Regions from separate parts of the Homo sapiens genome. Here all the other regions are linked to region 2. Evidence: promoter capture Hi-C in 16 types of primary human blood cells and fetal thymus (Javierre and others, 2016). All regions are on one chromosome and are shown on one strand. The core of a region is centred on a gene start or on the middle of the fragment in contact, and the rest is flanking DNA. Distances in the headings are between cores, read along the strand shown.

What was found. Contacts are between HindIII fragments. The CHiCAGO score rates a contact against its expected background, and 5 or more counts as called.
Region 1: a contact is called between the fragment with the promoter of TBC1D10A here and the fragment with the promoter of LIF in region 2, in 1 of 17 cell types (monocytes). The highest score is 7.0, in monocytes.
Region 3: a contact is called between a fragment that was not itself captured here and the fragment with the promoter of LIF in region 2, in 6 of 17 cell types (neutrophils, activated CD4 T cells, M2 macrophages and 3 more). The highest score is 10.1, in neutrophils.
Region 4: a contact is called between a fragment that was not itself captured here and the fragment with the promoter of LIF in region 2, in 1 of 17 cell types (activated CD4 T cells). The highest score is 5.9, in activated CD4 T cells.
Region 5: a fragment that was not itself captured here is called in contact with the fragment with the promoter of LIF in region 2 in 15 of 17 cell types (M2 macrophages, M0 macrophages, neutrophils and 12 more); the score reaches 19.4 in M2 macrophages.

Annotation. Positions count from the first base shown.
Region 1 is chr22:30,325,540-30,328,239 of GRCh38, reverse strand. It overlaps TBC1D10A (TBC1 domain family member 10A), which reads left to right and starts at 1,299. Exons shown (of 9, transcript NM_031937.3): 1 at 1,299-1,567. The coding sequence starts at 1,359. RefSeq lists silencers at 1,047-1,376, 1,677-1,726 and an enhancer at 1,943-2,700. The HindIII fragment of the contact is 3,707 bases long and covers 168-2,700 here.
Region 2 is chr22:30,245,316-30,248,015 of GRCh38, reverse strand. It overlaps LIF (LIF interleukin 6 family cytokine), which reads left to right and starts at 1,257. Exons shown (of 3, transcript NM_002309.5): 1 at 1,257-1,339. The coding sequence starts at 1,321. LIF-AS2 (LIF antisense RNA 2) reads right to left here and starts at 1,806. Exons shown (of 1, transcript NR_148946.1): 1 at 1,023-1,806. The HindIII fragment of the contact is 10,846 bases long and covers 1-2,700 here.
Region 3 is chr22:30,136,541-30,139,240 of GRCh38, reverse strand. The region is part of intron 10 of HORMAD2 (HORMA domain containing 2); the gene reads right to left. It also overlaps the pseudogene RPS3AP51. Among named protein-coding and RNA genes, the nearest start is that of HORMAD2, 57 kb to the right of the region's middle. The HindIII fragment of the contact is 4,090 bases long and covers 1-2,700 here.
Region 4 is chr22:30,152,473-30,155,172 of GRCh38, reverse strand. All of the region lies in intron 10 of HORMAD2 (HORMA domain containing 2), which reads right to left. Among named protein-coding and RNA genes, the nearest start is that of HORMAD2, 73 kb to the right of the region's middle. The HindIII fragment of the contact is 489 bases long and covers 1,018-1,506 here.
Region 5 is chr22:30,119,114-30,121,813 of GRCh38, reverse strand. HORMAD2 (HORMA domain containing 2) reads right to left here. Exons shown (of 11, transcript NM_152510.4): 9 at 25-182. Among named protein-coding and RNA genes, the nearest start is that of HORMAD2, 40 kb to the right of the region's middle. The HindIII fragment of the contact is 2,545 bases long and covers 167-2,700 here.

The DNA of each region.
Region 1 (2,700 bases), core at 50-2,549, 80 kb before region 2:
AATGGTGTATACCTCATTGCTAAGAGATTACAAGACATGTTGCAACCAATTTGGAAAACAGTTTGCCAGTTCCTCGAAAGGTTAAACAGTTGCCATATGACCCAGCAATTCCACTCTTCCTTATCTATCCAAGAGAAATGTAAACATAAGGCCCCCACACAAAAGCTTGTACCTGAATGGTCAGAGCAGCATTATTCATAATGGCTAAAAACTAGAAACACGCGAATGACCATCACTGATGAATGGAAAAACAAAATCTGGTATAGTCCCAGCTCCCAGGAGGGGCAGTATAGGTCTTTCATGGCGGTGTGGGCCTATCCCAGGAAAGGGAGGGGTGGAGTCAGACATACCTGGGGCAGATGTGAATCCAGAAGCACTGATACATGCTACAATGTGGATGAAACTTGAAAATGTTCAAGAGAAAGAATCCAGACATAAAAGGCCATATATTGTATAATTCCATTTATATGAAATATCCAGAAAAGGGACATCTATAGAAACAGGAAGCAGATTAGTGGTTGCCAGGGACTGGGGGAGCCAGGATGCGGAGTGACTGCTAATTGGTAGGAGTTTCTTTTTGGGGTGATGAAAATGTTCTAAAATTAGAATGTTGTGATGGCTGCACAACTCTGTAAATATGCTAAAAATCATTGTACACTTTAAACGTGAATTTATGGTATGTTTATGTTCCATAAAACTGCTGGGGAAAAGACTACAGGAGAAAGTAGGTAGAGCTTCGGGCGTGCGTGGCTCAGTAAACGCTGGTGATTATTAATAATTAGGTCTCACGAGGTAATTTAAAGCCCCAGAAGCAGTGAGTGCAATGGGACTGCCAGACTTCTGGCTCAGGCTGGGCCTTTAAGCCGCTCTGCGTCCCTGAACTCACTTGGGCCTCCTCAGAGTTCCTCATAAATGAATGGGGCAAACAATCCCTACCACGTCCTTGGGGTCTCGCAGGGAGCGGGGCTCAGGAGGCAGATGAGGAATCCATGGAGGAAGCCCTGGGCCTCCGGCTCGCGCTCTGCAGTAGGTGACAGGCCCCGCTTGGAGCCAACCCGGAAAGGCCCGAGCTCGTCCAGGTGAGTTCTTGTGATTGGCAGCCCGGAGGAGGGCGGGGAGGGCTGCGGTGACGGCTGCCCCGCCCCCTCACTTCGGGCTTGTTGGCGCCCGCCGGGGGAGGGTGGGCGGGGCCCGGGGTCCGCGGCGCCCATTGGGCGTGGGGGGAGAGCTCCGGGGTGGGCCTGGAGCCCCGCCCCCCGGCCTTGCGGCGGCCAATAGGCGCCGCGCGTGGGCGGGGCGTCGGCGGCAGCAGGGCGGCTGAGGTGGCCGCTGGAGCTCAGGCGGCGGGCGCGGCTGGGATGGCGAAGAGCAACGGAGAGAATGGGCCGCGCGCGCCCGCGGCCGGGGAAAGCCTGTCGGGAACCCGGGAGAGCCTGGCCCAGGGCCCCGACGCCGCAACCACCGACGAACTCAGCTCTCTCGGGTCTGACTCGGAGGCCAACGGCTTCGCCGAGCGCCGCATCGACAAGTTCGGCTTCATCGTGGGCTCGCAGGGCGCCGAGGGCGCGTGAGTAGCGCCGGGGGTCGGGACTGAGCGCGCCACCCACGCGAGGGGCCTCGACACGGACGGAGGCGCCCTCGGGACTTGCCGACACGTCCCCCTCCCAGGCAGGGACCACTAATCCCCGTTCCCTCCCCTGCCCCACCCCCACCACCCCTGCCTTCCTAGACCCGCCCCCTTCGCAGTCCTACTTCCGACCCAGGGGGCGGACGGGCCCACACCTCCACCCGCCACCTCCACCCTCCGGACAGACTGACCCGCTCCCAGGAAGGACCGACTGTGCCCTCCTTCCAGCCGTGGAACAGAATGACAGACTGCCCCAAACCCACCCCTGCCGCCAAGACCTTAGGGATGATTGTTTCTGCCACCCCGACAGGCTCCCAGATGGCTGGCGCCCCCCTCCATAGACACTCATTCTCCATCTTTCCCCCTCCCACAAACCCACAGACGCCCTTGTCTCCCCGCCTCACTGCCCCCACACCAGGAGACCTCAGACCGACTTCAGGACTGACTGCCCCGCCCCCACCCCTTCCCAGGACAGACTGACCCTTTCCTCGAGGCATACAGACCTCTGGATGGACAGACATTGGTCACCTCCCTCCCCTCAGCTCCATCCTGGGACAGACAGTCCCTTCTCCTCATGGAAGGGTCGGAGAAGGGCCCCCTATCCGCTCATACACAGCTTCCTCCACTGGCACTGGCAACAGGTGGGCAGGTACTCCCCCTTCCCAGCACGTACAGGGCGACAGGGAGCCCCACCACTAGGACAGACCATCAGCTCCAGCAGCCACAGGAGCCAGTAGATGGGCTCTGTGTATGTCCTGTGTATGTATGCGCCTCCTCCCAAGGGCAGATCTTGGGCGTGGGACGGGGGCAGGCAGGGAGACAGCAGGGTCCCTGCTCATATTAGCACCCCCCGATGTCCTATCCCGAGAGCACCCAGACACCCAGCTAGCAGACAGAGAAATGTGGGGCAGTGGAACAGCACCTTGCCTCCAAGCTGGGCCCCATGTTGCCCCACAGAATCCCCCGAGCCCAGGCCTCAGAGATCATGTGTACAGGCTGGCGGTCCCCTTAGGAAAGATGGACTCCATACCCCACTCCCATCCCAGCTGTCCTGTCACGTGAGACCAGTGTTG
Region 2 (2,700 bases), core at 8-2,507:
GGGCTGGGAAGGGGCCACAGGGGACTAAATCATCTCCTGGTACTGGGGGTCCCCTGGCAGCTTTAGGGACGGCATGGCCCCAGACGCGTGGCCATGCTGTCTGGCCGGCATTCCCGCATCTCATAGGGTGTATTTATTTTCACTTTTCTGTTGCATTTCTTGGAGGTGTCCCTGTGCTCATTTTGCCCGGCTCCCCACTGCTCCTTTCTGCCCTTCCTCATTCACAAATCGCCTGGCCTCAGAAGACGCCAGAACATGTGACACTGCCTTAGAGCCTCTAGAAGCACTTTTTGGGGACCTCCATCATTCTCTGAGGCTGGGCTCAAAGGGGCTTCCAAGGCAGGTCTGGAAGGGACCAGCCACTTCTCAGTTTCCCCAACCATCAATCAGCACCCGGAGGAGGAAACTGGGGTACGATTTCGCCAAGCCTCTCTCAGTCCTGCTTCAGAATGGAAATGCTGGACCGCCTTCCCAGAAGCACCTTCCCAGAGTGTCCCGACAGAACTGAGTCAGTCACCCCTACCCCCATGTCTTCCTAGCCCCTTCCCCAGCCTCACAGGTACAGTGGTCAGCAGGGCGAGTGCACTGGTGGTGTCTGGAGGCCTGACCCTCTGGGGCCCTGGGCAACGTGTTCCCCTCGGAGCCCCTTGGGGCCCAGTGGCAATGTGCAGATTGGAGGAGGCTACCTCTGGGGTGGCTTCCAGCGCCCATGTTCAGTTCCACTTTATGACCGTCTAAAGTCCACGCCGGCCCCGGCCCCTCCTCCTGGAGCCTCCTTCTCAGCCAAGCCCTAGCCCTCCTCCTCCCACTGCCCCCCTAAAGCCCCCCAACCAGGGGGCACAGGGGCCAGTCTCCATCTGCTAGTCCAGACTCGCTACCTCCCCAAACCCAGGTGAGTCAGGGCCGTCTGGGGCGCCCACTGCTGGGACCCCTGCTGACTCGGCCAGGGGCCCCCTCCTGGCGATGCCCATCTTCAGACAACTCCCGGGACAAGCCAGGCAGGAAAACCACAGGGCGTTTTGTCGAAGGCTTCATTATAATTTTATCAATCAAATTCTTAGAAGAGGGAAAAAGTCTGTTCTCCCCACCCTCCCCCCTCACTCGTCCCCCCCCTTCACTCTCACTTTCTTCCATTCATAATTTCCTATGATGCACCTCAAACAACTTCCTGGACTGGGGATCCCGGCTAAATATAGCTGTTTCTGTCTTACAACACAGGCTCCAGTATATAAATCAGGCAAATTCCCCATTTGAGCATGAACCTCTGAAAACTGCCGGCATCTGAGGTTTCCTCCAAGGCCCTCTGAAGTGCAGCCCATAATGAAGGTCTTGGCGGCAGGTAAATACACCCGCCCCGCGCCGGCTTCGCGTCCCCGCTGCGGGGCGCGGCGGCAACTTGGGGCGCTTGGCAGCGCGAGCCGGACGCCCACCCGCCGCAGACACACGAACACTTGGGGCGCCCGCGCAGCCACCGGAGGCGCTGGGTGGCGGCCCGGAGCGAGCGCGGGCACATGGTCCCAAGCACCGCACGCCCCGCGGCAGGTTGGCGGCGAGGGAGGGGGCGCCGAGCCTTCCTCCTCCTCCTCTTCTTCCCCCTCTCCTTCTCCTCCTCCTCCTCCTCGCTCCGGACACTCGCTGGCTGCTCTTCCCTCTGCGCTTTCTCCCAGATTCACTCTCCCTCTCTCTTTTTCTTTTCTTTCTTTCTTTCCGCTTTCTCCTTTCCAACCGCGGTCCCGGGCTGCTCCCAGGGAGGGGCGCGGGCGGCGAGCAGCTTGCAAACTCCGGCCTGGGACGGGAGCAGGTGCCGCCTCCATCTGCTGGTGTCTGGAAGCGTGTGGTCTGCGCTAGGTGAGATATAGGGGTGTGGCCCCCCTCCCGCAGCCACCCCGGGGCCTCAGCACTGCCTTGGGATGCTGGGACGAACAGGGGACCCAGGAGAAGTGAACTTGAGGAGGCCCCTGTCCCCGCTGTTCCAGCATGGGGGATCCGGGGGAGGTCTCCAGCCTCACTCGCCCGCTGACCCCGGCCCCCACCATCTTCAGGTGCCCTTCTGCAGAGCCCTGGAAAAGCGTCTAAGGGGGCCTGGGGGGAGTCGGGAGAACAGGCCCCCCTGGGGGAGGGGCAAACCAGGACATGTCGGGACAGCTCCCAGCTCTCCTGTCACCTTTCACTTTCCTTCCTCCCCGCCCACCCGACTGCCTATGACCTTTTGCCTTTTCTCTCTCCTGGTGCACCATTTCCTCTCCCTCCCTGAGCCGGTGTGTGTGTGTTAGGAGGGAGGGGAACCCCTGGGACAAGGGACAGCGGATGAGTCGGGAGAAGGCATGGAGTCAGGGGCTGTCCGGAGCTGGGGGAACAGAGAGTTTTGAATGATGATTTGGGGATGGAGAGTGGGGACAGCCAGGCAGAAATGGGGTGAGCTTGAGTGAGATAGGGGACACTAGGGAAGGAAGAGATAGAGGATGATGGGGGCGGGGGCAGAATTGGGGGCAATTGGCCCAGGGAGCCAGAATCAAGTGGCAGGTTTGGGAGGGAGATGAGGGTCAACCGAGGACTCCTCCCCACTCCCCCATGCCCCGTGGCCCCCATGGGTGCCTGGCTTCGGAGATTTGGGCTGCAATGGGCCAGTGAGTGGGAAGCGCTGCTGAGGAACCTGGGCCACCACGGGAGGTGGGAAGAGAGGGGTCTCCTTTCTCCTGG
Region 3 (2,700 bases), core at 132-2,631, 110 kb after region 2:
TATATATAAACACATTTATTATAAAGAATTGGCTTATCCAATTATGGAGGCTGGCAAGTCCAATATCTACAGTGTGAACCAGCAGGCATGAGACCCAGGAAAGTTGATGATGCGGTTCCAGTCTGAAGGCCAACAGGCTAGAGACCCAGGAGAGTCAATGGTGCAGATGAAGTCTAAGGCAATCTGCTGGAGCATTCCCTCCCGCTCAGGGAGGCCAGTCTTTTTGTTCTATTCAGGCCTTCAACAAATTCAATGAGATCCACACACATCATGGAGTGTTAGTTTTACTTTACTCAAAGCAACCTGCTTAACTTAAAGTTTACTGATTTAAATGTTAATTTCATCCAGTAGCACCCTCCAAGTTGACACATAAAATTAACTATCCTACCAAGGTTGTAGAATACAAAATCAGTATACAAAATTCAAAAGTATTTCTATATACCTGCAATGAATAATACAAAGATGAAAATTTATTCCCAAGTATTTTATTCTTTTCATGCTATTGTGCAGTTCACATACTATTCACATACTATTATGAACAGTATGAAAAGAATGCTCATGAATAAATTTAACAAAATAAATACAAAATTTATAATCTAAAAACCACAAAACATGGCTGAAAGAAATTAAAGAAAATCCAAATAAATGAAAATGGAATGGAAGACAATATTTATAAATTGTATATCTGGTAAGGAATCTACCCAGAATATATAAAGAACTCTTACACCTCAGTAATAAAAGGACAAATGACCGTTTTTAAAATGGGCAAAGGAAGCTGGATGCAGAGGCTCATACCTGTAATTCTTGCATTTTAGGGGGCCAAGGTGAGAGGAATGCTTGACTCCAGGAGTTCGAGACCAGCCCAGGAAACATGGCGAGACCCCATCTCCACAAAAATATTTTAAAAATTACCCAGGCATGGCGGTGCACACCTATGGTCCCAGCTTCTCTGTTGCCTAGGCAACAGAGCAAGACTCTGTCTCAAAAAAAAAAAAAATGGGCAAAAGATCCGAATATACATGTCTCCAAGGAATATATATAAATGGATAAGAAGCACATGAAAAGATGCTTGACATCATTAGTCATTAGAGAAATACAAATTAAAACCACAATGAGGTACCACTTACTTTGCACCCACTAGGATGGCTAGAATCAAAAAGTGAGACAATACCAAGTGCTGGTAAGGATGTGGAGAAATTGGAACCCTCATACACTGATGTTGGGAATGTAAAATGGTACAGCCACTTTGGAAGAATTTTGGAGTTCTCCAAATGATTAAACACATATGACCCAGCAATTCTATTCCTAGGTATATATCCAAGAAAATTAAAAATAGATACTCAAAAAGAACTTATATACAAATGTTTATAGCAGCATTATTCACAATAGCCAAAAGGTTGAAAGAACCCAAATGCCCATCACTAATACATGGATAGACAAAATGTGGTGTATCCGTACAATGGAGTATTATTCAGCCATAAAAAGGGATGAAGTAATGACACATGCCATACATGGATGAACTTTGAAAACATGATGCTGCCCTTTTGGCTGAAAAGCACATGGTAGTTGGCAAGAACAAGCACTTTATGAAAGGTGGCAAAAGCAAGCCAAGAAGAAAGTGGTTGATCCATTTTATTTCTTTCTTTCTCTCCCTCCTTCTTTTCTTTCTTTCATTTTTTATTTCTCTCTGTCTCTTCCTTTCCTTCTTTCCATTCCCCCTCCCTCCCTCCCTCCCTTCCTTCCTTCCTTTTTTGAAACAGGGTCTTGCTCTGTAGCCCTGGTTGCAGTGCAGTGGTGTGATCAACAGCTCACTGCAGCCTTGACCTCCTGGGCTCAAATACCTTGACCCATTTTCTAAGAAAGATTGGTATGATGTGAAAGCACCTGCTATGTTCAGTATAATAACTATGGGAAAGACACTCATCGCCAGGACTCAAGGAATCAAAATTGCATCTGATGGCCTCAAGGGTCATGTGTTTGAAGTGAGTTTGTCTGATGTGCAGAATGATGAAGTTGCATTTAGAAAATTCAAGCTGATACTGAAGATGTTCAGGGCAAAAATGCCTGATTAATTTCCATGGCATGGATCTTATCTGTGACAAAATGTGTTCCATGGCTAAAAAATAGCAGACCATGATTTAAGTTCACATTGATGTCAAGACTATCAATGATTATTTACTTTGTCTGTTTTGTGTTGATTTTACTAAAAAATGCAACAATTACACATGGAAGACTTCTTACAATTGACACTAACAGGTCTGCCAAATCCAGAAGAAGATGATGGAAATCATGACCCAAGAGGTGCAGACAAATGACTTGAAAGAAGTGGTCAATAAATTGATTCCAGACAGCACTGGAAAAGACATAGAAAAGGCTTGCCTATCTGTTTATCCTCTCCATGGTGTCTTCATTAGGAAAGTAAAAATAAAGAAGCCCAAGTTTGAATTGGGAAAACTCATGTAGCTTCATGGTGAAGGTAGTAGTTTTGAAAAAGCTACCAAGGATGAGAAAGGTGCTAAAATTGAATGAGCTGATGGATATGAACCATCGGTCCACGAATCTGTTTAACATTCAGACTTTTAATAGTGTCAAATTAAAAGCCCTATTTGTGGAAAAAAAAAAAGAAGAAGAAAAGAAAACACAATGTTAAGTGAAAGAGGTCAGTCACAAAATTCATCATAGTATATGACTTCATTTATT
Region 4 (2,700 bases), core at 13-2,512, 93 kb after region 2:
CAAATCAAAATCATGTGCCACCTGAAGGAAGTAAAGATTACTCAGCACCAATTCTGTGATATTCCTTCTTTCTTTCTTTCTTTTTTTTTTTTTTTTAAAAAAAGCAAGGTCTCACTTTGTCACCCAGGCTGGAGTGTAGTGGTGTGAACATAGCTCTCACTGCAACCTTAAAACTGTTGGGTTCAAGTGATCCTCTTGCCTCAGCCTCTGGAGTAACTAGGACTACAGACACGTGCCACCACACCCAGCTAACTTTTTAAAAAGTTTTAGGAGATGCAGGTCTTGCTGTGTGACCCGGGCTGGTCTTGAACTCCTGGCCTCAGGTGATCCTTCTGCCTCAGTTTCCAAAAGTGCTGGGATAACAAGCATAATCCACCATGCCCAGCCCTATGTTATTCTTTAAAAAGATGCATACCCTGAATCTAATCTTGAGGAAACATCAGACAAATGCAAATTGAAGGACATTCTAAAAAATAAGTGGCCTGTTCTATTAAAACATGTCAAGGTCATGAAAGTCAAGGAAGGACTGAGGACCTGTTCCAAGCTAAGGGAAGCTAAAGAAATTTAACTAAATACAACACATGATTCTAACCTGGATCCTTTTGCCATAATGGATATTACTGGGACAACTGGAAAAACTTGAAAGGAATCTGAGGGTTAGATGACAGTAATGAATCAAAGCTGATTCCTCAGTTTTGATGGTTATATTGTGAATATATAGGAGAATATCCTTGCCTATAGGAATTACATAGTACAGTATACAGGAGTGATAAAGCAAATGGCTCAGAAAATAAAACATGATTTGTGTGTACTTGCAGGTTTTCTGTAAGCTTGAGATTATTTCAAAATAAAAATAAACTTATACAAAAATGTAGATTTTAGAAATAAGTTTTTCCTGTTAATACAATACATATTTTAGTGACAAATATTGTGGAAACTGAAAACACTTATTCTTTTCTAACCTATCTAGTGACTATTCTGAAATGTGTCCATGTGTAAGTGAGGTGTCAAAAAGCTTAGCTTTTTGTAGAAACAGAAAGAAGGCCAGAGAAAATAGAGACGAGGAAGTAAGGGGAAATTGAAAGAAGGTAAGGTCAGAGCCTTGGGCTAGAGCAGATCAGGTATGGCCTTAAAAGCCATAAACAGTGAAGTGACATGAATAGATTGACATCTTTAGAGATGCTTTGGTGAAATAAACTGTGCAAGGGCAAAAATGAAAGCAAGGAGACCACTGGAGAGGTACTGTTTGCTTGGGCCAGAGTGGTAGCAGTGAGATAGTGAGAAGTGGCCAGATTTGAAATATATTTTGAATGGAAAGCTCACTAGACTCACTGATGGACTGGATATAGGTTTTGAGGGAGAAGAACTAAAGATGGCTTTTAGGTTTGAAGCAACTAAGTAAATGATAGTGTCGTTTACTGAGATGGGAAAGACTGAGAAAGTGACTAATGATAGGAAAGTGATAAGAATTATGGCTTGAATAGTAAAGTGGTGGTGATAAAAGCTTGATTAAAGTGGGTTAAAGAGAACAGAAAGCAGGGAATTGGACACAGGAAGCATAGACAATTCTCTTGCAAAATGGATATGATTTGGGCCAATGGAAAGAAAGGCATTCTGGACAAGAGAAAATACACTTGTTAAGATATGGGGGAAGAAATGAACTTGGCCAGTTCTTGTGACAGTGAGAAAACTGACCTAACTCAAGGAAGGGGAAGATGTTGGGTAATAAGACAGATAAGGTGGAGCCAGGCTACAAGCAGCCCGAAAGCCAAGAAAAGGTGTTTAGACTTGATGCTGGAAATAAGACTCATGAGATATTTTTGATTAGGGAAGCGATAGAATAAAAGTCATATTTAAATAACAGTAGATGGCAGTGGTATCTAGGATCCAGGAGGCTGTGGGAGAGCCTCAAGGCTGTGGTAGTAATTCAGATAGGAGAGGATGAAGGTCTGGACTTGAGTTTTGGCAGTAAGAACAGGCTGGAAAGGGAAGGCTTAGGGGAATTCTGATACTTGACTAAATGAGGATAATGCAGGAGAATGATTTCAAGATTCTGAACTTAAGACACTGAGATAAAGGTGGTGCTGAGATGGGGGGAAACTGGGTAGAGAAACTTGTTCTATGTGTGGAAAAGGGAAGGCAGTGGTGAATAAAAAGACGAGCATACTGGATTTGACATGACAGTGTTAACTCAAAGCACAAATGCCCGAAAGAAGGTTAAAGATATAGAACTGGAGCTCTTGGGGATGATCAGGGCTCAAGATAACACATATGGAAGTCGACAGCATACACGTGATGCTTGAAACCCTGAGAATGGATGAATCTTCCAAAGGAAAGCACATAGAGCTAGAAGAGCATATGATCAAAGATTTTGGGGGATGTTTGGGGATGCCCACAATTAGAGGTGGAAGAAAGAACAAAAGCAAAAGAGGGAAGTGGATGGAAAAAAGATGAGAACAGATGGAAAAAGAATGAGAAGTATATCATAGAAATAAGAAGGACTGTTTTAAAATGAGTATATCATCAATATAAAAAAGATCAAGGTTGGGTGTGATGGTTCACACTTGTAATCCCAACACTTTGAGAGGGTGAGGTGGGAGGATTGCTTGAGCCCAGGAGTTCAAGACCAGCCTGGGCAACATAACAAGGCCTAGTCTCTACAAAAATTTTTAAACATAATTAGTCATGCGTGGTGGTACA
Region 5 (2,700 bases), core at 190-2,689, 130 kb after region 2:
ATTTGCCTAAAGTTCTCTACCTACCTGCATTATAGTAGTGGAGTTTCATAGTAAGTACAACATTATTAGGAAGTGGCTCAAGGTCCTGCATCAGTATATACAATTTACGGATCAGTAGAACACTGGCTTTCTTAATATCTTCATTGTTTGTTCCACTTTCAAAGCTTGTACTGCTGCTATGACTACACAGAAAAAAAAGCATACTTTTTGATCATATACAATAGTGGCAATCTATCCCAAAAGGAACAAAACTTTTGACTATGTGAGTAAATATAAATTAAACATTAGTATATTTTGAGACTTTTTTAGAATGTAAATTAGGGGAGCGATGGTACTTTTTGCAATGTATATACAAAGAATTTCTTAAGTAGCAAATTCCCTAAAAGCATTTAAAATACGATCTTTTTAAAAATTTGATTTGAAAAAAATCATATACCACAACAGTAAGAACAACGAATTTGGAATTAGGTGACCTGGCATCTAATATCAGCTCTGCTGATAACTAGCTGAATGACCTTGGTCAAGTCATTTAGACACACTCTAGGTCAGTTAGCTCATTTGTGAGATAAGCGTAAAGACATTTCTACAACTCTCAAGCATAAAATCAATCACCAGCTCTGGGACTTTCTACCGTCTGATTATCTCGCAAAAGTATCCCTTCCTCACTCTTGCATTGATTACTACAGTGGCTATCTAACTATTTTTCCTGCTTTCCTTCTTGTCCACACTACAAAATATTCTCCATATCACCGCTGAAATAATATTACTAATAGGAAAATCTGTTCATGTCACCTTCTTACTTAGAATTCTTCTATTATATCCATCAGTTTTCAATCAAATTCAAAGACAGTGTGTATACAATTCCTTTCACAACCCGTCATATCCTCACCTCCATCCTCATCTGCAGCTATTGCCCAGTTTCCTCTCACTCAAAGTATTTGCATATGCTGTTCACTTTGCTTGTACTGTGCTTTTCCACTTTTCTTCCTGACTGTCCTAAATTTATCCTCTAATACCTAGCTCATGCGCAGACTCTTCAAAGAAGTCTTCTCTGATAATACCCTCATCTCATCCTCAGGATAACTATTTGTCCTTCTCTAGACTGTGAGTGGCTATATCTTTCATCTCCACAGTACAGAGTTTGGTGCCCAGCTATTCAATCAACATTTGTTGAATTAATGAATGAATGAACAATTTGGACTAAATTACCTTCCAATTCTAAACTTTGTTCATTTATCTCCAAAGTTTCCTTCCACAATTAGTCTCACATTTGAGTAGTTTCCAGGAGGGACCATGACTATAATATATTTACACATGGCTGTGCACATAGTTAGCTCTTAATATGAAAAATAACCCTAAGTAATTGAAATGTTGGATTTTTCCCTAACTGATCTTTGGAGACAGTGTGAATTCATGAAGCAAACATTTATTAAGTGAATACATTAGCTCCTTTTCCAATTTTGAACAACTTAAAATTCTGCCAACCAGGATTTAACCAATTCAAATGTAGGTAACCAGAATGAAGGGCTATAGATATGTAGCTCATGGGAGCCTCCAGGACACATCAGTAAAATCATATTCAGGACTCCCATTTAAACAAATGCCTATATTTCTTCTCTAGGAAATTAATAATATGCATCACCTTCTCTCCTTAGCATGTGAAAGATTTGGCCATTTTTGTTTTACAGCTTACCTCTTGGCATATGTGCCTTCAGAACAAAAGAGTTTAATCTGGCCATCAGTGTATATTTTTGAGTTTTGGAGAGTAAAGGTAACTTTTTATGTGAGAAAACGTGTATGAAAAGTGCTGCTGTATAAGCTGTAAAGTATTATACAAATGTTAGCTAATAAAAGGTAATATTTTAATTCTCATTTTTGGAACTGATTTTCTCTTCACATTCTAGTGCTGTCTGTAGGTTTTACAAATGGAAGGATAATCAAGGGAGTGAATCTTGGAGAAAAGTCCTCAAGCTCATGGCAAATGATGAGCCAGAGCTAATAGTAGGGAAAATTGAAAATTAGGCCATGTCTCTCATCAGTCTTTCCTTTCAAGGGCATCCATCCCCCTTACTTGGATTCCTCTACTATCCAGAGCTTTTCACCATCATCTGTACCTTCCACTACTGTGCCATCTCATCAGCAATACTTAGCTCTCCATCCCCCCTGGCAGGTCTGAATCCAAAAGCTACTGGGAGAAAAATAAACGTTGCTCTTCAATGTCCTTGTGTTTGCTATTTAACCCATTAGTAACCTAAAACTTGGAATTTTCGACTTCATAAGGAAACTGCAGTGCTTTCTAATCTTTTCATACAAGGACACAAGGAAATGATATTTATATGACATACTGGGGTAAGCAAATGAGAATATTTGTGCATACGGGCAAATAGTCCAAGGGTATTATCTACCCTAGGCACAGGCTGGCTATATCGAGGTGGAAAGGATCGCTATCTAGGCATAGCAGTTGAGAAACTTTGAATTAATGGCTAGACAGAGCCTTATGGAGTTATTCAATCAATAGCGTGTAGGCAACCTTATTGACATAATTTCTACCTTTGTGCTGCATGCCATTTTCTCTATTCCCACCAGCTTAATCCATGGATTTCAGGAATGTAAACAATTGTTGCAGCCCCTTTTTATAATAGTGGTTTTCTGTAGGGTTTGTGGGGAAATGTGTAAAGAAGTATAAGGCCTTTCTCTGGC